Linked DNA regions of Homo sapiens: region 1 is linked to region 2. The links are contacts of gene promoters, found by promoter capture Hi-C in blood cells and fetal thymus (Javierre and others, 2016). All regions are on one chromosome and are shown on one strand. The core of a region is centred on a gene start or on the middle of the fragment in contact, and the rest is flanking DNA. Distances in the headings are between cores, read along the strand shown.

Region 1 (2,711 bases), core at 3-2,502, 3.3 Mb before region 2:
AGCCAGGCATAGTGGTACACGCCTATAGTCCCAGCTACTCAGAAGGCTGAGGCAGGAGAATCGCTCGAACCCAGGAGGCGGAGGTTGCCCTAAGCCAAGATTGTGCAACTGCACTCTAGCCTGGATGACAGAGCAGGACTCTGTCTTTAAAGAAAAAAAAAAATCTGAATATTGCAACCATTCAACCTCAGGGACTGTTAGTGCTGTGACTGTCTTTGTTAATGAAAATTGCAAATATAGCCCAGAATCCAGTAAATGAGTAGGCACAAAATTGTCATAATCATAAGGTCCTTATCAAGTGCATTATTTTTAAAATCTCCACATTTTTCTTATCAGGTACCAAGAAGGAAGCAAAATTAAGGTTAAGTCAAATATCTACCAATTAACAAGCTTCCTACTTCCAATGAAAATTTGTTTTACAATCACTAAACCCAAGGCAGAATTTCAGCACTCAACTATTTGAAATCTGATTTTTGGGTTGTTGCCTGAATTGACAAATGATGTGATGTGAAGGAAAAAAGTGACACATACAACTCCAAAATAAAAGAACTCCCTAAACTTTGCCCGATATATGATTTAGCTGTGTGCTTCTCCCTGAAAAGAAATGGCTGGAAGCCTATGGTCCTCTCAAGCACCATCTTGAGGAGGGGTAAGAAAGCAGAACATTGCAGAAGGATAATACATTTAAAAGGCAAGGTAGCCTAGGACAGAAACATCATGTGCTGTGAATATCGCTAATTTTGCTTCCCCTACTCTCTGCTGAAAAGGATACAGAGCATTAGAACCCCTGCCACCATGCCAAGCCTTGCGAAAAGTAGGGTAGGAGAGGGAAGTTAAAAAAAAAAAAAAAAAAAGCAAGCAGTAACTAGGAAAAATGCTTGACTTGGAAAAACTGGGGCTTGCAAAGAACCTCCTTCTCCCCTCCTCACTGCCCCATTGAAAAACAGTCCTGACCTCACCACAGTCTTTAAGGGAAAGAAAACACAGGAAAAAACGGGGAGGAGGAAGGAACAGAACAAGTTGTAAGAAACATATTATTCTCATAACTTCACTCCCCATCACCTCTACCCAGTTTTGGCAGTACTTACCCACAGCCTCTGCCCTCACTCCCTTGCCCTCATCATCACAGCAGGATCATTCTGAAATTATTTAACTTTCCTGGGTATGTGACTTGCTCCAAGGCTGCAAAACTTAAATGCCAAATATGTACAAAGGTATTCTTTTACATTATTTTTCAACATAAATAACCCTAAGCACACTTGATTTCATGAATATGTTACATTCACATTACAGTGACATCAGGGGTTAAATAGGCTTCTGTGAGTTGGTCTAGGAAACCATAAGTTCTATTTGTAACACTGGATCAATTAGTTCTGCTCCAAGTTTAATCATTGGCTTCAAAGGAATAGTCTTGGATTTGCTTGACTAGGTTTTATGACCTTGAACTCAATCTTTTCTTTCTGGGCCTGTTTCTTCATTTTTTGCAATGACGATTTAGAGTAGTCATAATAAATTTACTGCCACTTCCTTTTGAGATGTGTTATACTGATATTCTGATTATTTAACTATAACACCTTGTTTCCATAGACTATAACTTTCATTTATGTAAGAAACATCTTTTACACATTCCTTGTATCTGGTAGAAGCTCATTCAATCTACAGACTGATTTAAGGGAAGGGAGGGGAGAAATATGCTAAAGACATTAAAATATGGAAGAATTTGATCAAACTCACATCATAAACTTGGATCAGAAGTCAGAACTAGATTTCTTAATTTATCTCCAGTATTTTCCATAGCTGAACCCCTCTCCTAGAGCCTTAACCACACACCCCCCCAGCCCTTTGTATATGTATCTCAAATATCCACCTATGTTAAAACTTGAGGCTGTATCTAGAACGTCTTCAACCCACCCCCCAAGATTTGATCTAACACGTAAATGCTTGCATGAGAGAAGTCTCCAGAACACTACCTTCTACTGAAATCAGTTAGGAGGAGATACACCCTCTGAATAAATTTGTGTAAGTCAGTCCATCCTAAGCCTTACTCTGTCTCTTCAAAGGGGAAGGAAACCAAGGGATATGTCATATGAAGGAATCCTCCAGATTTAAGCTTACCAATTTTGGCAGAGCCTAAAGCGCTAAGGCAAACAGTTAATAAAGGAGGAGGAAAAAAAGAGAGAATCGACTAGTTTCCTAGCGCTCAACTAAAAAAAAAAATGGGGTAGGGGTGGTGGCGGCGGGGGGAACAGGACTGTGAGACAGATTAAAAATAGGGAAAATGAAGCTTCTAGCTTTAAATGTTCCACCTTTCAACGCCACTTTTCAAAAGATCTATGGATTGATCTTGAGCCATCCAAATTCCTCTACAGCGTACCGGAAATGGAAGGGGTTAAACTTTTGCAGATGGATGCAAACAGGGGCGTATCTAAAAATCAAGGGTGGGGGTTTGGGATTCGTAGGGTACAGATGGGGGGAGGGAAGGGAAGCAAGGGAGGGAGAAGGTAGGGAAGGGAGGAGTCGCTATAGCCAGAATATGAATGAGGAAAAGAGAGTAAAACGCCGGTCGAAAGGAAAATAGGAGGGCAGGGGTGAAAATAGGGAGGGGGGGCAGGGAAGGAGGCCGGGAATGAGCGCTGGTCGAAAGCAGGTGGGGGAGGGGGCGACTGGAAGCGCAGCCCGGGACGAAGGATCAGGAGCGGGGGGCGACCAGA
Region 2 (2,778 bases), core at 165-2,664:
CATTTTTAACGAAAAAAACATATTTTAGGTAAGAATAAATGTCAATTGTATAGTGTATCAATTATATCTCAATAAAGCTGTTACAAGAACAAAATGTATGTGAAAAGTCACCAGTAAAGAAAACCTGCCATTATTACTAAGAGCCAAATCTGTGGTGATTTTTAAGAAGCTCCCACCATGAAGGAAAAGGGGATCTCACCTGAAACTAACAACAGGTCCAACCTCAGAAAAGATGTCCTTCAACTGCTCTTCAGTAGCTTCATAAGGAATGTTCCCCACTAAGGAAGAAAATAGGTAACATTAAAATTCTGAGTTTATAACATAGATCTTTAGTGAGAAAGTAAACTTATATCATCAAATATAAGACTCAAAATAGTGTTCTCCAATCCCAATTCCATTGTATTTCTTCAGACCTCTTAACAAAGGAAATATACCACTGAAACTAAATACAAAATGTGTAGGTACTCTCAAATGTTAGTTCTCAGACTGATCTGACACGTGTTAGATTTTCCTTAACTTTGGTGCAAATAAATACTTTGGCACTGGTATTTACCTAAAGATCTGCAAGTCTCATCAGTGACTACAAAAAATATCAATGTTATTTAATATAATTTTTAAAACAGGTTCCTATGTATTTCCACACATACAACATTTAAGGGAGAATGACGATGAATGTAGTGAAAGATGTTTAAAAAGTATTCTGAACTACTTTGTCATGTCCCTTTCAAATGGTACTCTAAAATAATCACACGTATTTTTAAAAACAACTTATTTCAGCCAAAAAGATAATTCAGAATCGTTTCGATCCTTTTTAAAATTCCTCTGAGGAGATCTTAATAGTTCATTCATTCATTCACTTACAAGCCATCTCAGGACACCAGGTGGCCGCTACCACTATTGATGCACTAAAATGTTACAGATAAAAAGCAAAGGATGAAAGTCCTTAGGAGAGGACAGTAAGTGGACACTAGGATCTATACCCTCAGCATATAGTCTGTATTCTGGGGCAGAGGATGAGAAGTAGTACGGGACAGTGAGGAGCTGTTACCGTGAGCCTTCTCCTCTAGAGAATAATTGAAGCTCATGAAAGGAGAAACGCACAGAAGCTGAACGCTAGTCTAACTTCCCCACTGATATTGCGGAAAGCCTACGAGACCTCGGCAGAATGGGAATATCTCTTTGCTCATGAGTCCACCAGGTTGGACGCCCTACAGGATAAGCAGGGAGAACTGCACGTCCGAACCGTCAGCGGCTCCGGTAGCGATTCATGAGATAGAAGGTGCAGAGGGGAGTCCCTCCCCGAAGCTTGACTACAACGAATTCCTCTCACCGAACACAGAACGTAGAGAACGATCCACCGCTGGGTCTCTCACAGTCAAACCCGCCATAGCTCTGTTGAGTCGGCTTCCGGTGCGCCAAAGCACACTTCCGTACGGAGCACAAGCCCAGCGCTGAGCACGCTTCCGTACGGCGCGTGAGCCGGAAGGGCCTGGGCGGAACGGACGCAGAGCCCCTCCCCTGGAGACATTCTGTTAGCCGCAGGCGCGAGTTGCGTCCACCGGAGGGCTATATTCTCACTCCTGAGATTAACTCTGTTCCGAGCCAGATGCAGGCGAGTCCAGGCTAATTTGAAGGGTTTCAGCCTGCAGACTTCCTTCTTATTAATTTTCTCTTAGGTTGATGCAAGTACTCCTCAACCACAATAAAGGCGCAGCGGCTTTACCATGGTAACAGGGAAGTCCTTTGCTGACAACTGTGGGGCTTGCATTTTAGTTCCGCCCTATCAAGGGAGGGAAATGCTTGGGCCCGTCCCAGCAGCGTGCATATTATTTGCTAAACCTGTTCGTGTGTGGAGTGAGATGAGGAAAGGGCATGCCAGCCGAGAGAAGCATAGTTAAAGAAATGGGAGAGGTAAAGGGAGAACAGACCTCTGTCCTCGTGTAGTCCGTGGGTTCCATGTGCTTCGTGGTGGGGCGGTGCGGCAGGGGATTCTGGCAGGCAGAGTATCGGAAACAGAAAACGTCATTCATCGGTTTTTCCACACTTTGGTGCCCACGCGCCTGGGATATGGCATGCAGGGCAGGTCGTTGTATCATCCCGGAAAGGCAGACCCTGCCGGGGTTGGAGGAAATCCAGGGGGCACCTCAGGAGGACAGGGTTAGGGGATAAGCAAAGGAAGGAGCCAAGAGCGCTACCTTTGAGGGACTTGTCCGAAAAAGGAAGACGGTAAAATAGCCACGGAATTGGAGGCATGGACGTTTTTATTAATTCCACATGTATTAAAAGTATATGGGCCGGGCGCGGTGGCTCATGCCTGTAATGCCAACACTTTGGGAGGCCGAGGCGGGCGCATCACCTGAGGTCGGGAGTTGGAGACCAGCCTGGCCAACATGGAGAACCCCTTTTCTACTAAAAATACAAAATTAGCCGGGCGTGGTGGCGCATGCCTGTAATCCCAGCTGCTCAGGAGGCTGAGGCCAGAGAATCGCTTGAACCCGGGAGATGGATGTTGCGGTGATCCGAGATCTGCCATTGCGCTCCAGCCTGGGCAACAAGAGCGAAACTCCATCTCCAAAATAAAAGTATATGAAATATGATAAATATTTAGAAAAAATTAATAAGTGCTAGTTTACACCATGAAGCATATCACTTTAAGAAGTAATTCTGGTAAAGATGGAAAGTTTGAGAAGAGTATACCCATTTCCATGACTCTAGAGTCCCATTTGCAATCACTGTGTGACCAAGAGGACACCTTGTGTAATGGAATGGTCCAAAAGG

What was found. The method cuts DNA at HindIII sites, captures the fragments that hold promoters and counts their contacts. A CHiCAGO score of 5 or more calls a contact.
Region 1: a contact is called between a fragment that was not itself captured here and the fragment with the promoter of CSTF2 in region 2, in 3 of 17 cell types (non-activated CD4 T cells, fetal thymus and naive CD4 T cells). The highest score is 8.4, in non-activated CD4 T cells.

The regions. Positions count from the first base shown.
Region 1 is chrX:104,167,022-104,169,732 of GRCh38, reverse strand. All of the region lies in intron 1 of FAM199X (family with sequence similarity 199, X-linked), which reads right to left. Among named protein-coding and RNA genes, the nearest start is that of FAM199X, 1.9 kb to the right of the region's middle. The HindIII fragment of the contact is 1,720 bases long and covers 393-2,112 here.
Region 2 is chrX:100,819,027-100,821,804 of GRCh38, reverse strand. It overlaps CSTF2 (cleavage stimulation factor subunit 2), which reads right to left and starts at 1,414. Exons shown (of 14, transcript NM_001325.3): 1 at 1,331-1,414; 2 at 200-278. The coding sequence starts at 1,388. RefSeq lists enhancers at 1,183-1,342, 1,623-1,672, 1,683-1,742. The HindIII fragment of the contact is 13,366 bases long and covers 1,308-2,778 here.